Linked DNA regions of Homo sapiens: regions 2, 3, 4, 5, 6 and 7 are each linked to region 1. Evidence: promoter capture Hi-C in 16 types of primary human blood cells and fetal thymus (Javierre and others, 2016). All regions are on one chromosome and are shown on one strand. Each heading gives the region's core, a stretch centred on a gene start or on the middle of the fragment in contact. The rest is flanking DNA. Distances are from core to core; before and after follow the strand shown.

Region 1 (3,319 bases), core at 216-2,715:
TTTAATAGAGAGATGAGACTATCTCTACTACTAGAACCAGATAGTTTTGTACACACACAGGAGACTTTTCACTTCAGAAATATTTACTTCCCAGGGTTTTCTTGGCTCAATTCCTGAGTTAGATATATTATTTCTCTCAGTAAGGTTTGCTCTGGCCAGAGACGTTCATTTCTGGTTTGATCCACTCTGGATTGACCCATAATAGAATTATTACAAGACAGTATTTTCAAGTGTTTGGAGAGTATCTGCTGAACCCCAATACCGCTCAGCATACATCTGCATACTAGAGGCTCACAGTTAAATCCTCACTTATTTCTACTTATTCGTCAGTGGGGGGGAAGAAATCAGAAAAAGAGGAAAAGAAAATCATAAACAGCCCCCAATGCCAGGCAGCCTGGCACGCAGCAGATGCCCTCAAATCTGGTGAAGGAATAAACGCAGTTTCCTACTCCTTTCGCCGAATGCAATTCAGAAAAGCATTACAGAGCACAACTCCTTCCAGGCTGGAAACGCTGCCAGAAAGCAGCTCTCGCTTCACCTCTGCCGGGGGACTCCGCCCTCTCCCCCAGCGCTCCAAGCGGAGACCGCAGGTCAGCAAGAACTGAAAACGCGTCTACTGGGCCAGGTCTCATGTTTATCTTATTTCCCCCTCACTCCACAGCACTCACTCCCCAGCTATTAAAACAGAGAAGAAAAAAAAGGAAAGAAAGATGGTAAGAATAAGACAGTAGGGTTAGGATCGGGGAGAGGGGCTTCAGCAAAAAACAGTTGCATCGCTCAGCCCCGGAAACTCATCCCGTCATCCCCAGACTCTCTCTCGGGAACTGGGCCCTACTTCAGAGATCCAGAAACAAAAATTGTAGCGTCGAGATGGTTAGGGCCGAGTCTACTTCTTTCGCCGGTTGGGCCTCAGAGCCCCAAGGCCGCCCTGCTATACTGCGCGACTGCACCGCGGGCCAGAGCGCGCCCCTAGCTCGAGGCTGCCAGCGGACACCGGGAAACTGAGCGGCCTGCGGGTCCAGACATCTGAGGAACGCCGCGCTCAGGCCCGTGCCTGCAGCCCGGTCCGCAGAGGGGGGGGGCCGCTCCCCCCGGTCGCCCAGTCGGGTCGCGCCGGTCCTTTCTCAGGGTGACCGCGTTCCTTCCGCCCAGAGAGGGCAAAGAGTCCCGCTCCCTCGTGTGCATCTCCCGCCCGCGCTCCGGAGCGCCCCCTAGGAAGAAAGCCCGAGCGGCGGCCACGCCTCGGTGGCGATTTTATTAGCGCTTGGTTGGGGTGGCCCGGCTGCCTGCGAGCGGGGTTTCCCCGCCCCTCCCCCCTTCCCCTCCCCCCAGGCGGCCGGAACCTCCCTGCGGAGCGGAGTGATACCGGCGGCGGCGTAGAGCGCGGTGCGGCCGAGGGGCGCCCGGGACTGCGCGGGGCGGGCGGCGGCGGAGGGAGGAGGGGAGAGAGGCGGGGCCGGGGCGGGTTGTTGTGAGGCGACTGCGCTACTGCCGGAGCGGGGCGGTTATGGCGGCTCCATATTAACAGCCTCCTCCTCCTCCGCCGCCGCCGCCGTCTCCTCCTCCTCCTCCTTTCCCTCCCGCCCGCGCTCTAAGCCATCTCCGCCTTCACCCTGACGCCTGCCTCTTCCCCTCACCTTTCCCCCTCCCCTGTTCTACCATGCCCGGCATGATGGAGAAAGGGCCCGAGTTACTGGGGAAGAACCGATCGGCCAACGGCAGCGCCAAGAGCCCGGCAGGCGGCGGCGGCAGCGGCGCCTCGTCCACCAACGGCGGGCTGCACTACTCAGAGCCCGAGAGCGGCTGCAGCAGCGACGACGAGCACGGTGGTAGCCTCGAACTCCTCCCCGCCAGCCCGCCTGCCCCCCTCCCTCTTCCCCTCCCCCAGCCCCCTCCCCTCGCCGCTCTCCCGCCCTCCCTCCCCTCAGAGCCTGGGCGCTGCGGTAGCCTCGAACTCCCGGTGCAGTGCAGCAGCACCCCCGCGACCCCCCGTCCCTCCGCCCTCGACCAATCCTCCGCCTTTGCCCCCCCCCGCTCCCCGCCCCCAATCCGCTGCCATCTCCCGGAGTGCCCCGAGTTGATATCTTCCCATCCACCCGCCGCTTCTTTCCTCCATCTAGCGATTTTTATTTTTTAAGTGTCTCTTCCTTTTTCTTTCTTTTCTTCTTTTTTATTTTTTATATATATTTTTTGGCATTGCTTTGCAGATGTTGGGATGAGAGTCGGAGCCGAATACCAAGCTCGGATCCCTGAATTTGATCCAGGTAGATATATTTGCTTAAGCAAAATCTCATATCCCCTTTCCTGGGCTTGGTTTGGGGTGGACGGGCTAGGAGTCCGGGCATGGGGCCGGGAGGGGATGCGGGGTTGGGCTGGGCAGGCATCCGTGGCGGGGAGGCTGTCAGGCTTGGCCGGGCTGTGACACTGGGCGTGTGGGCAGATGTGTGCACTGCAAGGTTAACATGGTTCCCTTCGGAGGCCACTTGCCCGCTGGGGGCATCGCCTTCCTAGCCCTTGAGCCTGGGGCAGGGTCGGGGTGAGCAGAGGGAGACGGCCCTTGGCGGAGTCCAGGGTCCGAGGCCGCGGGCTGGAGGAGCAGGCGTGCGGACTGTATGGACGAACCGTGCAAATGTCAATTGCCACCTCGCTCGCCCCGGCGCCGAGGGCCGCGCTCTGTCGGGCGGGTGGCAGAGGCCAGGGCGGCTGTCACCGGCCGGGGAAGCCAAGGGCGAGCCCTGCCGACCTGTGCGCAGCCGGGATTGTCTCTTTTCTTTCTTTTTGGCTAGGTGGTGTAGCTTTGGTCGCGGCAGCTCTGCGGAGTGCAGGAGCCGCGGAGAGAAAGGGGTGGGGGAAGGGGGTGGGGAGACGCCAGCGGCAGGCACACCTCGCTCGCCAGCCAGCTCTGGGAAGTTAGACCACAGGACAGTGGCTGCAGCTGCCAAGGAGACATTTTCTCCCCGACCAGCCAGGTTCCAGCGTCCTCTGCCAACCCAGCTTGCGGGCTCCCTGTCTACTTTTCTCCAAACAGGCTCCCCGGCGGTCACGAGATTTCAGCCTGTGCAGGGATTGGGCGAGAGTTCCGCATATGGAGGCGCCCTTGCTGGAGCCTCTCGGAGTGGAGCGCGTTTCCTTCTCCCCACCCTGCCTGAGACCCTTCTCAGTTAAGGCTTTGGACAGACTTTGAAAGGGACCCACCTTTTTTTTTCCTCCTTACAGTTTGTCAATTTTTGCCCAGTGCCCATAATATTGCGTTTGTGTCAGACATTGGATTTCTATGTTAGATATTAAAGAGCTTACTTGTATTTTCTTGGAGAGAAAC
Region 2 (3,319 bases), core at 282-2,781, 930 kb before region 1:
CTCCTCCCACTGTGTATTTTCAAATAGCCTGCCTTCAAGCTCACTAATTCTTTCTTCTACTTGATCAATTCTGCTATTAAAGGATTCAGATGCATTCTTCAGCATATCAATTGTATTTTTCAGCTCCAGAATTTCGGGCTTAATTCTTTTCAATTATTTCATTTGCTTCATTAAATTTACCTGGTAGGATTCTGAATTCCATCTCATGTTTTCTTGAATTTCATTGAGTTTCTTCAAAAGAGCTATTTTGAATTCTCTGTCTGAAAGGTCACTCTGGGATTGATGCCTTATTTAGTTTGTTTGGTGATGTCATGTTTTCCTGGATGGTCTTGATGCTTGTGAATGTGTGTCAGTGTCTGGGCATTGAAGAGTTAGGTACTTATTGTAGTCTTCACAGGGTGGGCTTGTTTGTATTCATCCTTCTTGGGAAGGCTTTCCAGGTATTCTAAGGGACTTGGGTGTTGTCATTTAGGTTTGGGTCACTGCCATCATATCTGCATTAGAGGGCACCTCAAGCTCAGGAATGCTACGGCTCTTGCAGACTCAGAGGTACCACCTTAGTGGTCTTGCATAAGATCTGAGAGAATCTTTCCCCAGCTGCTGCTGTAGGATGAGGGAGGGGTAGCGTCTGCAATTCAAGACTGTCTTCTCTACGCTTTTCAGTGCCTCTTTCAGTGATATGAAGTTAAAACTTGGTACTGCAATGGCCCACTTGATCTTTGGTTCTTATTAAGGTGTTTTTTGTTGATAGTTGTTCATTTTGTTGTTCTTGAAGGGAGGACAATTGGTGGAAGCTTCTATTTGGCATCTTGCCCCACCTCCCTTAGATTTTGATAAATTTTAAGTTTTCATACTGCCAAATTGCTTACCCAACTAAACATTGTGTGTGAGTGCTATCACATAGCACCCATGCCAGGCTGTAATGTTATTTATTAATTTTTTGCCAACTTAATGTGTGAAAATTGTGTGTTCTTGTTTTTTTTTTTTTTTTTTTTTTTTTTGAGACGGGGTCTTGCTCAGTCACCCAGGCTGGAGTGCAGTGGCACGATCTCGGCTCACTGCAACCTCTGCCTCCCGGGTTCACGCCATTCTCCTGCCTCAGCCTCCCGAGTAGCTGGGACTACAGACACCCGCCACGATGCCTGGCTAATTTTGTTTTTGTATTTTTAGTAGAGACGGGGTTTCACCACGTTAGCCAGGATGGTCTTGATCTCCTGACTTCGTGATCCACCCACCTTGGCCTCCCAAAGTGCTGGGATTACAGGCGTGAGCCACCATGTTCTTGTTTTACTATGCATTTCATTGAGCTTTTTGCAATATATTTTTGTTTCCTACTTTTATTTCCCTCCTCCTTTTTCTAGTGGGTTGTCTATAAATGTGTCTTGCTCATCTATAATTGATTTCTAATGTTTTCTTATTGATTGTATTAACTCTATATATAATTTTAAAATTAACACTTTGCAAATTTCTTGCAAATATCCCAGTCTATTGCTTATCTTTAAATTTTGGCTATTATGGCCAAGCATGGTGGCTCACACCTGTAATCCCAGCACTTTGGGAGGCTGAGGCAGGTGCATCACTTGAGGCCAGGAGTTCGAGACCAGCCTGGCCAACAAGGCAAAACCCTGTCTCTACTAAATAGCCAGGTGTGGTGGCTGGTGCTTGCCTGTAATCCCAGCCACTCAGGTGGCTAAGGCACAAGAATTGCTTGAATCTGCAGTGAGCTGAGATCATGCCACTGTGCTTAGCCTGGGTGACACAGTGAGACTGTCTCTAATACATACATATATATATATATATATATATATATATATATACACACACACATAAATTTTGGCTATTTTTATTTGATGTTTCTGATTGCCTGTGTTTAAATCTGCCTTTATCTCCTTTGTGTTCGCCGGTGAATTTAAAGTGCATATGTAGACAGGGGTTAAGTGTAAATCACACTGAACCTATATTAACAACAGCATCTTTTAGAAATAATATAGGAGCTGTTATCACATCCCTGTCCCTGAGTTTGACACTACCTGAGTTGAGTTCTTATTCTGCCACTCCCTCTGCCAAACCCTTGGATCTAGAGTTGACAGATAAAATACCCAGTTAAGTTTGATTTTCAGATACCCAGGATGTAAATTTGAATTTCAGATATACCATTTTTTTTTTTTTTTTTTGGTAGAGATGGAGTTTCATCATGTTGGCCAGGCTGGTCTCGAACTCCTGGATTCAAGTTATCTACTCACCTCGACCTCCCAAAGTGCTGGGATTACAAGCTTCCTGTAAGTACTTAAAAAAAATAAGTATATCCCAAATATTGCATGGGTCATAGTGATACTAAAAAGTTACATATTGTTCACCTGAAATTATTTACTTATTTTTTTGAGACAGAGTCCGGCTCAGTCACCCAGGTTGGAGTGCAGTGGTGCGATCTGAGCTCACTGCAACCTCTGCCGCCCGGGTTCAAGCGATTCTCGTGCCTCAGCCTCCCAAGTGGCTGGGATTACAGGTGCAGGCCACCACACCCGGCTAATTTTTGTATTTTTAGTAGAGACGGGGTCTCACCATGTTGGCCAGGCTGGTCTCAAACTCCTGGCCTCAAGTGATCCTCCTGCTACCGCTCCTAAAGTGCTGAGATTACAGGCGTGGGCCACCGCGCCCAGCCTGAAATTCAATTTTAATTGAGTATGCTGTATTTTTATTTGCTAAATCTGGCACTCCTATTTGGGGCTAGTTTACTAACACCTGCTTACTGAACACCATCCAGTACCAGGTTTTGGGGTGAGTGGGTTGGGGGGAAGCAGAAAGAAAAGATAGCTCCAGCTCTTGGAGAGTTCATACTCTGGTTTCCTGGAGAATTCTAAAATCATTAAAATAATCCTCTCGACCATTACAATGACTGCTAGATGAAATTTCTGAGAGCACAGCTTCCGAGTTTCCCTGCTGCCTAGGGCAGAGTTATCCACCTTCACCTTATCATAGAACCACCTGAGACGCCCCTGCCATGGACAGTCTGATGCTTTTGGTTTGGGGAGGGATCCAGAAGCCCGAGGTTTTAATGAGAGCCACGTGATTCTGCTGAGATAAGTCTGGAGAACTCTGGCAAGCCTGTCTCTTGGCTCAGGCTTGGAGGCCTCCGAGCAGCAACATCGTCCCAATTATACCCCGTTGGAGCATCTTCAGATCTTCCACTCTTTTCACAACGCAATCAAAATCTTCGTACCCATTTTGCAGTAGTGATCTCTGTAAGTTGCTTTACAATTCATAAAGTTTATTCTATTTGATCTTCACTCTAATTTACAAAGAAAAGCAGGGAAGTCTA
Region 3 (3,319 bases), core at 237-2,736, 910 kb before region 1:
TTAAAATTTTGCTCTTATTTTGGCATCCACAATGAGACATACTTGAGAGGTTTAAATAAAGCAGTAAAGGCCATAAATGCGTTTAAATTTAGTGAACTCTTTGTTACTTGGAACATTTGGAATCATTTAATTTGCTGAATTTTAGGACCTAACTTTCCTATACCTTCTCTATTACTTAGAGTATAGTCATGGCTGCCATGATGGAGAGATCTAGAATAGGAGAGGCTTAAACAACCTAGAAATGCATTTCTCTTTCCTGTAACAGTCTAGATCTAAGTAGTCTGGGGCACTTTGGGGCTTGGGGGTGGTACCTGGATTTGGGGACTGAGAGGCCTCTGTCTTGTCCATGTGGCTTTCACCTCTTCATCCACGGAGGCTGTTCCAATTCTGTTCAACAGGAAAGGGAGGGAAAGAAAGAGATGGCCACAGCCATGTCCCTTCACTCACACCCTTTTGAATGGAGCTATTCAGGTGTCCACACTTAGCTACAGTGTAGTGTTGGTGTCCAGAGGAAATTTTAATTGATGTGTAAGAAGAGAGACTGAATTCTGAAAAGGGGTAGTGAGGGGCGGTGGGTAACAAGCAGTGTCTGTCACAGATGTCTGTGATTATGTCATTAACTGCCCTTTAAGAAATGTACAGATGAGGCCTGGCACAGTGGCTTGTGCCTATAAACCCAGCTACTCAGGAGGCTGAGGTGGGAGGATCACTTGAGGCCAGGAAATCAAGATCAGCCTGGGAAACATAGACCCTGTCTCCAAAAATACATAAATAAAGTGCATAGATGCATGGCAGACAGCTGATTTTAAGTTTTTATTTTATTATTGCTTTTAGAGAGGGGATCTGGCTATGTTGCCCAGGCTGGTCTCGAACTCCTGGCCTCAAGTGATCCTCCCATCTTGGCCTCCCAAAGTGTTAGGATTACAGGCATGAGCCACCATGCCTGGCCTATAGTATGATACTTGAAAGGGACAACAAGGATGGTGAACCTGTTGATTTAGAGGTTTGTATACTGTTTGTGCTTTTCAGACTTTTTGAAGCCATTTATTATTCACAGAGCACCTGGTAGTCCCTTCTTGCTACATCCCAGGCACTGTGCTAGGGGCTGGTGAGTCAGAGATCATGGTCCCTGCTATCTGAGGGTCCACTCCACAGAAGAGACAGGCATATTATGCAATGGGTAGAGAACTGTCTGATGTATACTCTGATGGGAGACTGTGGGAACTCCTAGGAAAAGACCTGACCCCTTTGACAGGCAGGATGCACATGTGTGGTGTATGTGTGCGTGTGTGTGTGTGTGTGTGTGTGTGTTGGATGCAGGATGGAGTAAGTTCACAGGGAGGAGGAAGCTTGATTGGGGTTATGTCTGTATCACCTTGAATAGTGATGGGTCTCCGGGAGTGTGAACTAACTGAATTGATGTTTAGATGCTGTTCTCTAGTGTCATGTTCATGGCTTAAAGTTTTGTCTCTGTTTCTCAGAAACTCTCAGCGTAGGCATCGGGAACCTTCGTGCCAAGGAGCCATGCTGCCCCGATGGGAACTGGCACTTTACCTACTTGCCTCACTAGGCTTCCACTTCTATTCCTTCTATGAAGTTTACAAAGTCTCCAGAGGTAAGGCCCCAAGCTTTTCAGACCTCCTATCAAACAAGGAAACTCCTGTCAAAAAAAGGAGCAGAGGTGGAAGATTCAAGAAGATGATCCAATAGTGTCAAGATGATGTGGGCCTTGATTTGCTTCCCCATGTCTTGGATAGTTTGAATCAGTGACCTGAGTCCATTGAGTTTTCTACCCTAAACCTAGGTCTTTTAGGTGATGCTGTGGCTTGTCTTCTATAATTGGTGGGTTTGATTCAAAAGCTATTGAAGGCCGTGGAGGGGATTTGCGTTCAGAATTCAAAGTAAACTCTTAAATTTCTCTTTCATCATTACTCCTCTGAGACATATTAGATCTGGGTTCGTTTTGTCTTCTTCTGTCATTTTTAGTGTTGCCTTTGTCTGAGTGTTGGAGATAAATCATCATCAGGTCACATTCCAGCCCAAAGGAAGGGGAATGGGGGCCCTCCTTTATTTTAGCGGCAGTTTGGCAAGGAGCACTAGTCACTCCTGCTCACACCCAACTGGCCAGCACTGAGTCCCACGGGCACAGCTGGGAGGCTGGGAAATAGTCTTTAGGTTGGTGGCTATGTGCTACCTAAAACTTTTTTTTTTTTTTTTTGAGACCTAGTTTCGCTCTTGTCGCCCAGGCTAGAGCAATGGTACCATCTCGGCTCACTGCAACCTCTGCCTTCTGGATTCAAGCAATTGTCCTACCTCAGCCTCCTGAGTAGCTGAGATTTCAGGTGCCCACCACCACGCCTGGCTAATTTTTGTATTTTTAGTAGAGACGTGGTTTCACCATGTTGGCCAGGCTGATCTCAAACTCCTGACCTCAGGTGATCCTCCTGCCTCAGCCTCCCAAAGTGCTGGGATTACAGGCGTGAGCCACTGCACCCTGTAGCTGGGACTACAGGAGTGCACCACCATGCCTGGCTTTAAAACTACTTTTAAAAAATAAAGTATATTGAAAATGGGAGGTGTCTATTCTTACACCAATACCATAATGTCTTGATTACCGTAGCTTTACATTAAGTCTTGAAGTTGGATAGAAGTCTTCTAACTGTTATTTGTGTTGTCTATTCTGGGTCTTTTGCCTGTCTGTATAAACTTTAGAGTCAATTTGTTGATATCTACAAAATAACTTTAGCCATAAAATAAAGATGTTTATAGCAGCTTTATTCATAATTGCTAAAAATTGGAAGCAATCAAGATGTCCTTAAGCAGCAAATGGACTAATAAACTGTGGTACATTCGGACAATGGAATTTGCCAGGATTTTCATTGTGGTTGCATTGAATCTATAGATTAAGTTGGGAAGAACTGACATCTTGACAATATTGAGTCTTCCTATCCATGAATATGGACTATTTCTCCATTTATTTAGTTCTTTGATTTCTTTCATGAGAGTTTTATTGTTTTCCTGATATAGATCTTATACATATTTTGTTAGATTTATAGCTCAGTATTTCATTTTTTGGGTGACAATGTAAATGATATTGTTTTAAATTTCAAATTCTACTTATTTCATTGCTGATATATAGGAAAGCAATTGATTTTGTTATAGCAATCTTGTTATTATAGCTTATTAATTCCAGGAGTTTTTCTGTCAGTTCTTTCAGATTTTCTACATAGGTAATCATGGCGTCTGCGAAGATGATTTTCTTTCTTTCTTTTCAATCTTATATACCTTTTCTTTTTTGTTGTTGTTGTATTGCATTAAT
Region 4 (3,319 bases), core at 471-2,970, 890 kb before region 1:
AGCCCAGCTGCTTGACTCCCTGCAGAGGCTCCAGAGTCCTGCAGAGATGACCCCTTCTCAGTGCTCTCCACAACAGCTCTCATAACAGGTCTGGGGTCGGGAGTGTTGTTGCTCAGGCCAATTCTGCCTTCACAGAAAAGTCCACGTGGCACAGACACACACACTCTGGGAGCTCCAAGGATTCCGTCTTTTGCCATCCTGACAAATCTGTCCATCCCTCTGTCTGACTATCCATTCATCTACCAGTGCTCTGAGCACCTCTCATCTTCTCATCTCTCTACTTCTCATCACCTTGCATGTGGGGTGGGTGGTTTGGAGCCCTAGAATTTACGGAGGAAATGGGTCCTGGTGAATATCCGGCAGAGGAAGGACATTGATATGGGTCCTTAGGATCAAGATACTCCTTGCTGAATATTTCTTTTCTCAGAGGCTGTAGGAAGTGGCAAGCACATGCTATTTTGGTCCAAATTCTAATCAAAAGAAGATATTAGATGTGACTAGAAATCATGACCTTTAGAAGAAAGCTTAGTTTTCTGACCAGCCCATCCCTTGAATGTTAGTCTGCAGCTGGGTTGGTAAACCTCAGTACTGCTGACAGTTTTTTTTTTTTTTTTTTTTTTTTTGAGACGGAGTCTCCCTCTGTTGCCCAGGCTGGAGTGCAGTGGTGTGATCTTGGCTCACTGCAACCTCTGCCTCCTGGGTTCCAGTGATTCTCCCACATCAGCTTCCTGAGTAGCTAGGATTACAGGCACCTGCAACCACATCCAGCTAATTTTTTTTATTTTTAGTAGAGATGGGGTTTCGCCATATTAGCCATGCTGGTCTCAAACTCCCAACCTCAGGTGATCCACCTGCATTGGCCTCCCAAAATACTGGGATTACAGGTGTGGGCCACCATGCCTGGCTGACATTTTATTTTGTTGAGATAGGGTCTCGCTCTGTAACCCAGGCTGGAGTGCAGTGGCACAATCTTGGCTCACTGCAACCTCCATCTCTCAGGTTCAAACAATTCTCTTGCCTCAGTCTCTTGAGTAGCTGGGATTATAGGCACACACCACCACGCCTGGCCAATTTTTGTATTTTTAATAGAGATGGGGTTTCACCACGTTGGCTAGGCTGGTCTCAAACTCCTGACCTCAAGTGATCCACCTGCCTCAGCCTCTCAAAGTGCTGGCATTAGAATCATGAGCCACCATGCCTGGCCACATTTTATTAAAAAAAATTTTTTTTTTTGAAGAGATGTGATCCTGCTCTGTCACCCAGGCTGGAGTACAGTGGTTGTAATCATAGCTCACTGGAGACTTGAACTCCTAGGCTCAAACGATCCTTCTGCCTCAGCCTCTTGAGTAGCTGGGACTACAGACATGCACCACCATACCTGGCTGATTTTTAATATTTTGTAGAGATGGGGTCTCACTATATTACCCAGGCTGGTCTTGAACTCCTAGCCTCAGCCTTCCAAAGCACTGGGGTTACAGGTGTGAGCTATGCTGCCTGGCCACTACTGACATTCTAGATTAGATGGCTGTTGTGGTGAGCTGCTCTGGACGTTGTACAATGCTTATCAGAGTCCCTGGACTCTACCTAGTAGATGCTAGCAGCATTTCCTGCCCTAAGCCTTAACAATTTTAAAAAGTGGGCTGGGTGTGGTGGCTCACTCCTGTAATCCCAGCACTTGGGAAGGCTAAGACCAGCGATCATTGAGGTCAGGAGTAGCCTGGCCAACATGATGAAACTCCATGTCTACTAAAAATACAAAAATTACAGCCAGGTGTGTGCCTGTAATCCCAGCTACTCCAGGGACTGAGACACAAGAATTGCTTGAACCCGGGAGGTGGAGGTTGTAGTGAGCAGAGATCGTGCCACTGCACTCTGCACTCCAGCCTGGGTGTCAGAGTGAGACCTTGTCTCTAAAAATAAAATCAAAAACAAGAAACAATTTAAAAAGTCTCCATGCATTGCCAAATGCCCCCAGGAGGCAAAAATCATCCCCTTTTAAGAGCAGCTGGTCTATAGCAATATTTAAGGGCTCTTAAATGACCACTCCCTTGGTCATGCCGATTTGCCATTCTTACCTTTACTCATCCTGTTCCTCTTCTGGATTGGGGCTCACGCCTTCCCTGTCCGGCCCTTACTCAGACTTCAGATCATAGCTGGCTCCCTGTCACGAAGCATTGCCTGAAGCTCAAGCTGAGCTTGGTGCTCATAGTTCCTGACACTTCCCTGCCTCTCTCTTTACTTCCTTCCACAAATACAGCTTTCAATGAGAGTGTCTCTGTGCTCAAGTCCATATGGAGCGCTGGGGACAGTGGTGAGCCAGACAGACAACATTCCTATGCTAGTTTCTCCTACTAGGGACAGGCTGACCGCAAACAAATGAACAATGGCCACAGATTGAGCTAAATGACATGAAGGCAGTAAACAGGGTGATAGGATAGCACTCTTTTGGGTGAAATCGTGTACCCTATTATGACAAATTTATTTGTAGAATTTTATTTGATGTTGTCCTTTCTGACTTAGATTGTGGGTCCCACAAAAGCAGGGCTGGGATTTAATCATTTCTGTATCTTCAATGCCTGGAGCAGAGTCAGTGAGTATTTTATTGAATTTAACTGCAGGAAAGAGTGAAGGGCCAGGTTGCAGCATGGAGGTGAGAAATACATTGGTCCTACGTGCCTCTAGATAGCCATGTAGGTAAGTGGGCTAAGTGGGACAGTGTGTAGAGTCAGAGTAGGGAGACACCATTCTGGGCACAAAAAATCACAAACTGCTTCTGGGAGAAGGGGGCTGACCTTCACCTGAGCTCCAGAGAATGAGTAGGATTTGGCAAGATCATCAGTAGAGGAGATGCTGTTCCAGTGGTGTTGCTATGGTTAGAAAAGGGAAGAATGTATTAGGGAAATGGTGAGTCAAAGTGAAGCTTCACTTAGGGCAGTGAAAGGGAGCTGGACCTGACTGTAGTCCTCCAGTTTTTGATGATGTTCAGGTTTGGAGGATTACAGCCCCAATCAAGAATGCTTTTGATCTTTGTCATTTCTTTGAGGGTAATGCTGATTGCACTTGCCAAGACAACAGAAGTGGTGTGGGTGCTTGCGTAGGTGCGGCTGTCAAGGGCTGTTCAGACTCCATATGCTTTGGTTTTTGCATCCTTTTTTTGTAATGTTTGCTCTTCCAGGCTGTCAGGGTAAAAGCCCCTCCCCCACCCCCCACCCCCTGCAGGCTCCAGTGTGCTGTGCTAGAATGGGGTGAACCCAGCCTTGCTGGGTTCTGGGGTGATCTGTCGTTGTATTTGCCAGTCCCTTTTTCTTTCTTCTTGCTG
Region 5 (3,319 bases), core at 285-2,784, 860 kb before region 1:
ATTATCTACTCATGTGACCCAGTGGAAGCTCTTTCAATTTAGGTAGTGAAAACAAAGTGTTTAGCCCCGAAGGGCACAGACCAAGCTTTCATTTCTGTAAACCCAGAGGCATTTTGACAGACTCAACCACCTATCCATTGTTGGTGCTAATAGAGGAGGACACTGGGCTCAAACCTCACTTCTTTAGGGCTTTTGTTTGCATTAGTAAAATCTTATTTTATAGGCACTTACCTTTTAGCTTTATTTTTTTTCTCAGTCACAATAACAGTGCATTTTTACTTTATGAGTGCACATCAGACTTGACCCAGAGAATTGGTGGATGACAGACAGACTGCCTTCTGAGTTGAGTTTCCTGTGCCTTGCTGAGGCGATTGCACCTATCAGCAAATTCTTCTTGTACTACATTTTCTGATTTCTGTTGTGTGTTCTCTGATCATCTCCTGGGCAGTGGCTAGCATCCCCTGGACGGCTCTGGACTATCTGTTTCTGTCTTTGGTAACTGGAGTGACCTAGCCCTGCTTATGCAATTGAAGCTTAGGCCCCTCAGCCTATCTCAGGCCCACTCAGGCTGTGTGAGGTTCCTTCTCTCACTTGTCTGTTGAATACACCCTTTACATGTTCAAGTTGGAGCTGCCAAGGTCTGTGGCTGCAGGGGAGTAAAGGCAGAGTCTGTGTGGAACTCTCAACCATCCAGAAGTGGGAGCTTTCTTTTAAGGAGAAATGCATGGCAAGAACACAAGTCCAAGGCCCCAGCTCCAGGGTCTGGTTCTGGGCACTCAGCTTCAGAGCCCTTCACTTTTGGGGCCAGTTGACTCTGAGAACAGCCAGCCTGAGAGTTGCGCAGCTTGGAAAACATCAGGGGTCATATGCCCAGGGCAGGACCATTGATGTTTCCCACCTTCATCGACCTTCTCCTTCCTAGCCCGGTTCCCAAACACTGCCCAACTGGCAGGAGCTGTTTTTTTGAGTCAGGCCAATCTGCTTACCTTTCCCTTTACACATTTACGTATGTTTATGCTGTCTCTTGGAACCAACCTTCTCATCATCCCTGTCCACCGGATTCTCTTTCAAAGTACAGCTTAGACCTCAGTCTCTAAAGGTAAGAAATAAAAGAGGGCCACAGAAAAACAGATCAGTTAGTGTCCGATACTGCTCTGAGAGCTGCTGGCTCTTACAAACTGGTAAACAATAAAACAGTAGCATGTAAGTGACCAGGTGTCACCTAGAGCTTTGGGGACACTGCACACACCTATCCCTTCCTCTAACCCCCTAGGATCTCCATAGGCACATTCAAAATCTTGGGCAGTGTTGGGTATTCTTTCTTCAATCACTGTGGGACTGGAACTCCTGTGGTATCTTTTTATTCATTCATTCAGTCACTCATTCATTGATCCAGGTGACAACACTTAGCATTCATGTGCCCTGCATCAACACAGTGATGGGAAGGAACATGATGGGAAATGTGAGATGGATGACCTGGTTCCTAGTCTATTCTATTCCCCATCTCTTCCTACTCTGAAGCTGGAGCAGTCATTTAACCTCTGAGCCTCAATCTCATCATTTGGAAAACAGAAGTAATAAATCCTCTTCCTTCCTCATGGGATTGTTCTGAGAGTCAAACGGGATAATCTATGTTAAGTGATTTTGTGAAAATTGTAGCATTTTGAAAGTTCAAGTATTTTTTGCTGTTTTTAGTCTACCTTCATTTTTCTCACTCTCATTAATGATGTGGGGCTAGCATTTTAAGCACGTATGTCAAAATCTGGACTTATGAGAGTATATCAGATAATCACTCCGTTTTAATGAAGATACTTCCCAGAATGATTAGGCAACCATTTAGGCAAGTGTGCTTAAAAACAGATTTACAGTAAAAATAAAAACAAGCTCATACCTAACCTTTTGGGGACCTGGCAAGTGTACAAACAGAATCTAATTCCATTTATCATTTATTTGGGGACAATTAGCATCAGTTATAGATGTTGGAGGTGAATAAATGTTCATTTGTTCTGCAAATTTTACAGTGATTTGAAAAACACTGAGGAAGGAGATCATGTGATTAGAAACTAGCTGGGTTTCCATGCTTTTGCACATGTGGTTCTCCTGATATGATTATCCTCTTTTCCCTTGGTGGCTGCTAAAGTCTTGTACAAGAAGTAGAAACTCTGTTCAGTGGTTGGTTTTTCTGTGTACAGCTTTAAGAGACCCTGATGGATCAAGTTAATTACTTTCTCCTTTGACCCAAGTTCTATTTCTCGTATGTATTTCCATAAATAGTTTTTCTCACTAAATGTATTTTTGGAAAACATGGAAAATGTAGAAAAATATAGAAATTAGAAAATACTTCATAATTTTACTCCCCGATATTAACATTTTATTGTATTTCCTTCTCATTTTTTGTTCCATGCATATTTTTGCACAGGTTATTTCTTGTTTCATGCTCTATTGTAATTGCATTTTTACACATCTACGTCCTGTATGAGAATTTAACATATTGAGGGCAGGGACTTTTTTTTTTTTTTTTTAAATATTTGTCTGTAAAGCTTATTAGACAAATGCTACTCAACTAAATGTAGAGCCAAACTGATAACAAAAGAGGAAAACGAAAAATACATTGAAGACAGAAATCCCATGGGACATTTTAAGCCCCTCTTTGTTATCTGAATTGTTGAAGAAGCTGTCAAAGTATCCACTGGATGTAGCTAATCTGCACCTTATGCCCTGGATGTATCTGATACATGCCTAACTGGGAAAACCTTCGTTATGTTGTGTCAGACCTAATGCTAGGTTAACATTAGAGATGTCCTTTTTCCTACTGCTCATTAACTGCTTGCTTTGATTACCAATGAGATTTACCTGGTGTTCATTGGTTCTCGACTGCCTTTTATGGCACAGCTGCTCTGCCTGAAGAAGAAATTGCCTTCCCAGAGCCCCCTGGGATTCTCAGATGACGGTGGCCCTGCTGGCCAGCACCTGCAGTGGGACTGGACGATGTCCCTGCTGGCCACTCAAAGGTTGTTCTCTCCTTTTGATTTTGTAGAGAAGGTGGTACAAGACAGAAAACGAGTACTACCTGCTGCAGTTCACGCTGACCGTTCGCTGCCTGTACTACACCAGCTTCAGCCTGGAGCTCTGCTGGCAGCAGCTGCCTGCTGCATCGACCTCCTACTCCTTTCCCTGGATGCTGGCCTATGTCTTTTATTATCCAGTCTTACACAATGGGCCCATCCTCAGCTTCTCGGAGTTCATCAAACAGGTAGAGCCCGCTGGGGATGGGATTGGGATTCTATAGCTTAAGCCTTTGTCGCTGTTGCTCTGGTCT
Region 6 (3,319 bases), core at 369-2,868, 840 kb before region 1:
TTGTAGTTTTAGTAGAGATGGGGTTTCACCATATTGGCCAGGCTGGTCTCGAACTCCTGACCTCAGGTGATCTGCCCACCTGGGCCTCCCAAAGTCCTGGGATTCTAGGTGTGAGCCACCATGCCCCACCTTATTTTACATTTTCTAAAGTCTGTATTCTTAACTGTTATGCTCTGCTGCCTACTAAGCAAGAGACTTGTTCCACATACTGTCTGCCATGTTTCAAAAAACAACTTAGGGTGAAATGACATGCCCACACATCATTTTCCCTTGCTCTCAGCCCATCTTTTTCTCTTTCTCTTCTACCAGTCCTGTGTCTCTTGTTGACTGGGACCTGCTTTTGCCAGCCTCAGACATGAGTAGGTGATGGAGGAATTCAGGCAGGGTGGCACCTGTAGCCCGAAACTCCAAATTCCCAGTGGGGAAAATACACTGAGTGCTGCCCTCCCCGCTTGGGTTTTTCCAGGGCTGATGCTGGAGTGGAGGGATCAGTGCAGAACGTGTCTTTGGCTCTTGGCACTAGGCTAGCTTGTTGACCCCCAACCCCCATTCTTATTTTGAGACAAATGTTCAAGCTGAAATACGATTCTTCCAACCAAGAACATTGAGTGTTCCCAAGACAAACCAAACCAACCCTCTGTCAGCTGGCATAGCAATAATATTTGTGGGAAGTTTATGAAAAATCTTATCTAAGGGACTGTTTTAGGAATCAAGGCACCATCGAATGACCTCTTTTGTTTCCACTTTAGATGCAGCAGCAGGAGCATGACTCCCTGAAGGCCAGCCTGTGTGTCCTGGCCCTGGGGCTGGGCCGCCTTCTTTGCTGGTGGTGGCTGGCCGAGCTGATGGCTCACCTGATGTACATGCATGCCATCTACAGCAGCATCCCCCTCCTGGAGACTGTCTCTTGTTGGACCTTAGGTAATTGTGGGAATCACCAACAGTGGGATGAGCCCCAATAGTCCAACAGTTAGCATCAGAATGGAGCTGGAGTGGGGGGTGAGCAGGGGTGCAGGTGCCTATAGCAAACCCTCTTTATTATTATTTTTTAACCTACTCCTCTTGTGGCCAAGATTGTGCATGTGAGAAGTGGTTGATGTAGCTGACGGAAGTGAGGGCTGTGCTTGTAGTCTGGGGACCAAGAATGGTGGCATTCTTCTCTGTAATGGGATCCTACTGACCTTAGCTGGGTCCACATCTTCACAGCGTAGCCAATATTGTGTTTAGCAGTAGAAGGCAGGAGTTGCTGGGGGCAGCTTTGAGTTCATTCTAAGAGAGAATGCTCCAAGATTGAGTTGTTCCACAGTCTTCCTTGTTCTTTGTGCATAAGGTATTAAAGAATATGAGGCTGGGTGTGGTGGCTCATGCCTGTAATCCAAGCACTTTGGGAGGCTGAAGCGGGCAGATCACTTGAGGTCAGGAGTTTGAGACCAGCCTGGCCAAGAAGGTGAAATCATGTCTCTACTAAAAATACAAAAATTAGCTGGGTGTGGTGAGAGACACCTGTAATCCCAGCTACTCGAGAGGCTGAGGCAGGAGAATCACTTGAATCTGGGAGGCGGAGGTTGCAGTAAGCCAAGATCATGCCACCACACTCCAGCCTGGGTGACAAAGCATGACTCTGTCTCAAAAAAAGAATGAGTTTCAGGATCACACAGCCATAGGTTTGAGTTTCAGCTTCACCAATGACTGGTGTGTAACCTTGGCAGTTTACTTAACCTCTCGGTTCCAGCACCCTCATCTGTAAAATAGGGAGACTTAGCTTTGTGGAATAATAGGAGGATATTAGGCAGCGCTGCACATTGAGGGTGTACCTTGTACACTGTCTTGGGATAGAATAAATGGCGTGTGTGTATTTCCCTCTGTAGATCCCCTTTCCTTATCTACCCTTTCCTGTGTGTCTGCCAGGGAGGTGGCATGGAAGTCTTACTTCCTCAGCAGGGCTAGTCTCCAGTATAGGATTTGTCTGTGGAGAAACCACTGTTCTTTTATTCCTCTGGCCAAAACAGCAGAGCCCACGCCCTTTTCTGAATAAAATCTCTTCACTTCCTTGTTCTCTCTCCTTTTGAGGACTCCCGCAGTGGCTGACTTCTGCCTGTGCTCTGACCTCCAGCCTGTAGCTCCAATAACTGTGTGATCCTCCAGGCAGATCAAGCTGTTCCCTGCTGAGGGCAAGAGTACAAGCCTGACTCCTTCTTTATCTGTTTAACATTTCATAGATCTTCTTAAACAAATCTTGATTGTTCTTGGTATCACACGTACTTAATCAGAATGTTTCCAAGGACGAAACCTTTAAGATTGAAAAAATGCTAAGCTAGTTTAATGATAGTCTCTTTCTTCCAAACAAAACTTTTTATAGTTTGGAGTTGCTAATATTGTAAAGTTTTAATGATACAATTAGACAAACAGAATATGATTAAATGATAGCTTATACTAAGTCAGATCCCAGTTGTATGGGATACAAACTAAGGGACTGTTTCAGCTTGAGGGTTTTTAAACTAAAAGTAATGGAAGACACAACTCAAAATGGGGCTTAAACAATAAGGAAGTTATTCCATATAACAATGATACTTAAGATCGGCACTAGGGGTAGTAAATTATGTGACTCTGATGTCACCAACACACCTTTTGTGTGTCCACCATTCAGCTTAAGAACTAACCAGAATCGTAGAAGCCCTTAGTTTGTACTCGTAATCCCATCAGCCTCTATTACCCTCTCTGAAAAGATTACCTGAATATTGTATTTATCCTTTTCTTCTTTTTCTTTGTACTTTTACCACAGTTAAATCCTTAAAATTGCATATGTTAACACCTCGTCGTATGAATAGATTCATGCTTGTTATGTATGTTCTGTGACTTGGTTTTCTTGTTTAACATTATGTTTTTGAGAAGCATTCATGTTAAGACATGTAACTAGGTAGCACTTATTTTCACTGCTGTATGGCATTCCAGTGTATCCATATACAAGAAGTTATTTGTCCGTTCTACATATACGAGGACACTTGAGTTTTTTACAGGGTTTTGCTATTCCATATAATGCCATTTCTGTGTCTCTTGGAGCTCATGTGTAAGGGTTTCCCTGTAGGGCCATAACTTTCAAACTCTTTGGCACATTACCCACAGTAAGAAATACATTTTGCCCTAATGCTAAATAACGAGTTGATGGGTTCAGCCCACCAGCATGGCACATGTATACATATGTAGCTAACCTGCACATTGTGCACATGTACCCTAAAACTTAAAGTATAATAATAATAAAATTTAAAAAAACAAAAAAAAAAACAAAGAAATACATTTTGCATTACAGGTGTGTGCATGA
Region 7 (3,319 bases), core at 285-2,784, 820 kb before region 1:
AGCTGTTTCCCCTCCTCTACCAAGTCCTCTTGGGGCCTTAGGTGTGGGATGAGAGAAGGATAGCCACATAGCAGGAGTCAGCATATTGGGAGGAGGAGTTCTCTTTTCCTGCAACTTAATTGTGACCTCAGGATTCTCCGTGTTTGTGTGTGTGTGTGTGTGTGTATACACATGTGTATGTATCCATTGATAATGGAATGCTTCCTGATATTGTGGCTAGGTGGATCAGATAACTCTAGTTGATAATGGACCACTCAGGTAACATGGTTCTTTGGTGTCCTGTGGTCAGGGATAGCTCACCTGGTGAATGAATTAGAGTGGCCTGCACAGTTACATACATATCACCTCCAAATTCCGAAGAGGTCTACCAAAGCTGTGCCTCTTTCTTATGGATGAGTGGCATAAGGTAGACCAACTTGTCCTTTACTTGTGTCTTGAACTCCCAGAAACTGCTCTGAAGTGATATACCCACATATATATATGTATGTTTATTTCTGATATGCTCATACTTATTAAGGCATCTGGTATACCTGCCACTCCTAATTTTGTAGGTCCTATTGGCATGCTCTGTTCATGATTTTTCTTACGGTTATTTGGCTGTTTTAGGGTCTTTAGGTCTGTGAACTGACTCAGGTCTGGAAATTGGGTAAATGATCATGGTGGCTTAAGTTAAGCCTTGTTCACTAAAACTAGATTATTTGCCAGTTATATAATGACAATAAAAATAACCGTAGTGGAAATGATAGCTAGCATATATTGAGCACTTAATCTGTGCCAAACACTGCTTTAAGAGCTTTATATTAGCCTATGTAATTCTCACAGCAGCCCTATGAGCAGATAGAATCGTATCGCTATTTTACAGTGAGGAAATGGAGACACAGAGAGGTTCAACTTGAGTATCTGTCTGTCTAAGGTCTATGGACCTCATGATCAGTTGCCCTTCTCCAAACATCCCAGTGAATCAGAGCATCTGACCGCCAGGAAGGCCATGTGGCTTACTGTGGTCATCATGCACACGTCACCTTGGGGTTAAGTGGCATTATTTAGTCTATTACTTAAGGGGTTTGGTGTCCGCATTGAAATAAAGAATTTCGTTGTCTCTTAACAGCATCCTCAGCCCACAGAGAATGGCCTTGGCAACACATTTCTGAGACGCTTGTGCTCCCCTCACTAATGTATTTATTTCTCAAATTCTCAGTGAAGGGAGTGTCTTCTGAGCTCTCTTGGGGGCATAATTAGGGAGTGGGCTAGCAGGTCACACATGATAAATCCACTCAGACATTCTTATCTCCTGAAATCATTTTATTACTTCCTCTCTTGACTTCCCAAAGAATTTCTGGCATCTCAGCCCCATACATATGGGCAGCTGTGGTGTCTGGGTTTCCAAACTCATACAGTCAGCTCCACTCCCAGCTGCTGCAGCTGGCATGTGGAATCCTGACTTGCTGGTAAGTGTGCTCATATTGATCATTCCACCCCATCTATTTAGTCTTCTTCCCTCCATCTAGATTCCTTAGAATCCCACATATATAGGTCAGAGTTTTGCTAATGTAAAGTAGAAAAACCTTGTGGTTCTTTTGGAGTGAAAGCCTTGTAATAGGCCCCTTGGGGCATGCTGGGGCTCATTTCTAGACAGTGAGGCGTGATGAGCAGGAGAGATGAAGAAAATCTGCTTCTCTTGCAAAGTAATTCCTTCATGAGACTTCATTAAAAGGGTCTTCAGGTAAGGCCAGATCAGCCTCATCTGAAAGCCTTACACAGGGAGAAAGGGGCTGTCGCTGCTGACAAGTGATGTTCCCTGAGGTTTGGGGACTTGGGCTTTTCTTAATCACCTTAAATCTCTGTTTTAGTTTTTAGGAGTTTCACTCTTTGTAGATTGGTAGCCCAGTCTATAGATACCTTGCAAGGGTGAGAATTCAGCTGACATTGTAATTTAATAAAGCTAAGGATAAAACTTCTGGGGTTTTTTGTTTATTGAGCCCGCTGACTAGAAGAGATAAGAGATGGTTTTTAGCAGAGGCCAAGAAGGTCCCTGGGTTTCAGTCCATACCCTAAGCTGAGAATTTAGGAATTGGAGCCTGTCATTCTCCTCTTACTCTCATTCTTTACGCTCTGCTTGGCAGCCTACACCATATTTCTTGGAATTAAAGACATCATGCCCTTAGTAGTTGTAAGTTGGGTTCCCCAGGGAGGCTAGTTTGTAGGTGTTTATTAGGGTGTTCTCTTGAGATTAATTCCTGTAGGAGGAAAGGGGTGGAAGGAGGGCCTGACAGAGGGAGGAGCCAACTGTGACGCAGTCTTCATGGAAGCTCCAGTCGATTCTGTAGGGAGTTCTGCAGGTTGGGTAATTCTTTGGAGTGGTCCCAAGCAGAGTGAGGAGGCTAAGCCTTTCTACCCCCATGGCAATCAGTCCTTGGATGTAGCCCACCCCAGAAAGGCTTGGGTGAGGTAGCTTTCCTGAGTGGACGCAATCCCCAGTGGAGGTAATCCCCAGCTGAGAGTTTCTGCTGGTCACTTCCCATCAGCTGGGACAGTGAGTCCTTCATTGCCTAAGGAAATCTGGGCAGTGCATCCTAGTATTCCCCATAATAGTGTTTTGTGGAATTGTCTACTCGGTCACCCAGTCTTGGCTTCAGTGGTTGCTTCTTTCCAGGTGACTCCAGACAGTAATTTGATGAACAATTTCAACACTGTGTACCTGGAGCTTCCAGACTCTCACTGTTGATTAGTAGCTGGATTTTCACTGCCTTGAGCTCCAAAGCATCAAGACAGCCAAATCTAGGTTCCCTAGTTTTTCCTGAGTGTCTGATGCTGACGGGTACTGAGTATCAGTTTCTTGAACCTATCAGTTTCTTCTTTGGAAGTAGGAGAAACCAACTTTGGATGATTTATGCAGAAAATAAGATTCATTAAAAGGAAAATGAGTAGCTCATAGAATCACAGGGCTCTGAACTCAGAGGACTGAATCCAGGCTATGCAGCCAGGACTCAAACCCCACAATATGCCACAGTTTGTGAGGATGCCACCCCCTCCTAGTGTAACTTGAACTAGCCACTGCGTGCTGCCACTAATGTCACTGCCACTAGAGTGTGCTTGTCCAGTGGACAGGGCCTATTCAAAGTGCAGAGGAACCTGCAGGGACTGTGTGATGTGGATGGAGGGTAAGGAATGAGGAACAGGAGAGGGACTGTGGTCAAGTTTCACAAATGCCCATGTTGATTTTAGACAGCAGCAGCTTGTTGAATGGCTTGAGAATCTGAGTTGCAAATGAGGCCTCATGGGAGTTACATAGGAAATCTGAAGCCTGCTGGGCCCAGAG

The links. The method cuts DNA at HindIII sites, captures the fragments that hold promoters and counts their contacts. A CHiCAGO score of 5 or more calls a contact.
Region 2: a contact is called between a fragment that was not itself captured here and the fragment with the promoter of RCOR3 in region 1, in 2 of 17 cell types (M2 macrophages and M0 macrophages). The highest score is 5.6, in M2 macrophages.
Region 3: a contact is called between a fragment that was not itself captured here and the fragment with the promoter of RCOR3 in region 1, in 1 of 17 cell types (M1 macrophages). The highest score is 6.6, in M1 macrophages.
Region 4: a contact is called between a fragment that was not itself captured here and the fragment with the promoter of RCOR3 in region 1, in 2 of 17 cell types (M2 macrophages and M0 macrophages). The highest score is 6.4, in M2 macrophages.
Region 5: a contact is called between a fragment that was not itself captured here and the fragment with the promoter of RCOR3 in region 1, in 1 of 17 cell types (M0 macrophages). The highest score is 6.1, in M0 macrophages.
Region 6: a contact is called between a fragment that was not itself captured here and the fragment with the promoter of RCOR3 in region 1, in 1 of 17 cell types (M0 macrophages). The highest score is 5.1, in M0 macrophages.
Region 7: a fragment that was not itself captured here is called in contact with the fragment with the promoter of RCOR3 in region 1 in 2 of 17 cell types (M1 macrophages and M2 macrophages); the score reaches 7.4 in M1 macrophages.

Annotation. Positions count from the first base shown.
Region 1 is chr1:211,257,901-211,261,219 of GRCh38, forward strand. It overlaps RCOR3 (REST corepressor 3), which reads left to right and starts at 1,466. Exons shown (of 12, transcript NM_001136223.3): 1 at 1,466-1,826; 2 at 2,208-2,264. The coding sequence starts at 1,661. It overlaps LOC105372902 (a long non-coding RNA gene), which reads right to left and starts at 1,292. Exons shown (of 2, transcript XR_922552.3): 1 at 836-1,292; 2 at 1-675. RefSeq lists enhancers at 285-404, 679-1,180, 1,683-2,182 and silencers at 885-1,674, 1,745-2,044. The HindIII fragment of the contact is 7,419 bases long and covers 1-3,319 here.
Region 2 is chr1:210,325,143-210,328,461 of GRCh38, forward strand. It overlaps a transcript of HHAT not described here. Among named protein-coding and RNA genes, the nearest start is that of HHAT, 2.1 kb to the right of the region's middle. RefSeq lists an enhancer at 2,933-3,102. The HindIII fragment of the contact is 1,479 bases long and covers 793-2,271 here.
Region 3 is chr1:210,347,452-210,350,770 of GRCh38, forward strand. It overlaps HHAT (hedgehog acyltransferase), which reads left to right. Exons shown (of 12, transcript NM_018194.6): 2 at 1,482-1,615. The coding sequence starts at 1,525. Among named protein-coding and RNA genes, the nearest start is that of HHAT, 20 kb to the left of the region's middle. The HindIII fragment of the contact is 279 bases long and covers 1,348-1,626 here.
Region 4 is chr1:210,364,712-210,368,030 of GRCh38, forward strand. All of the region lies in intron 3 of HHAT (hedgehog acyltransferase), which reads left to right. It overlaps LOC124904503 (a long non-coding RNA gene), which reads right to left and starts at 2,235. Exons shown (of 2, transcript XR_007066866.1): 1 at 2,076-2,235; 2 at 1-470. The HindIII fragment of the contact is 2,396 bases long and covers 523-2,918 here.
Region 5 is chr1:210,401,427-210,404,745 of GRCh38, forward strand. It overlaps HHAT (hedgehog acyltransferase), which reads left to right. Exons shown (of 12, transcript NM_018194.6): 6 at 3,038-3,253. Among named protein-coding and RNA genes, the nearest start is that of HHAT, 74 kb to the left of the region's middle. The HindIII fragment of the contact is 2,007 bases long and covers 532-2,538 here.
Region 6 is chr1:210,417,405-210,420,723 of GRCh38, forward strand. It overlaps HHAT (hedgehog acyltransferase), which reads left to right. Exons shown (of 12, transcript NM_018194.6): 7 at 750-921. Among named protein-coding and RNA genes, the nearest start is that of HHAT, 90 kb to the left of the region's middle. The HindIII fragment of the contact is 6,070 bases long and covers 1-3,319 here.
Region 7 is chr1:210,438,031-210,441,349 of GRCh38, forward strand. The region is part of intron 7 of HHAT (hedgehog acyltransferase); the gene reads left to right. Among named protein-coding and RNA genes, the nearest start is that of HHAT, 110 kb to the left of the region's middle. The HindIII fragment of the contact is 3,981 bases long and covers 1-3,319 here.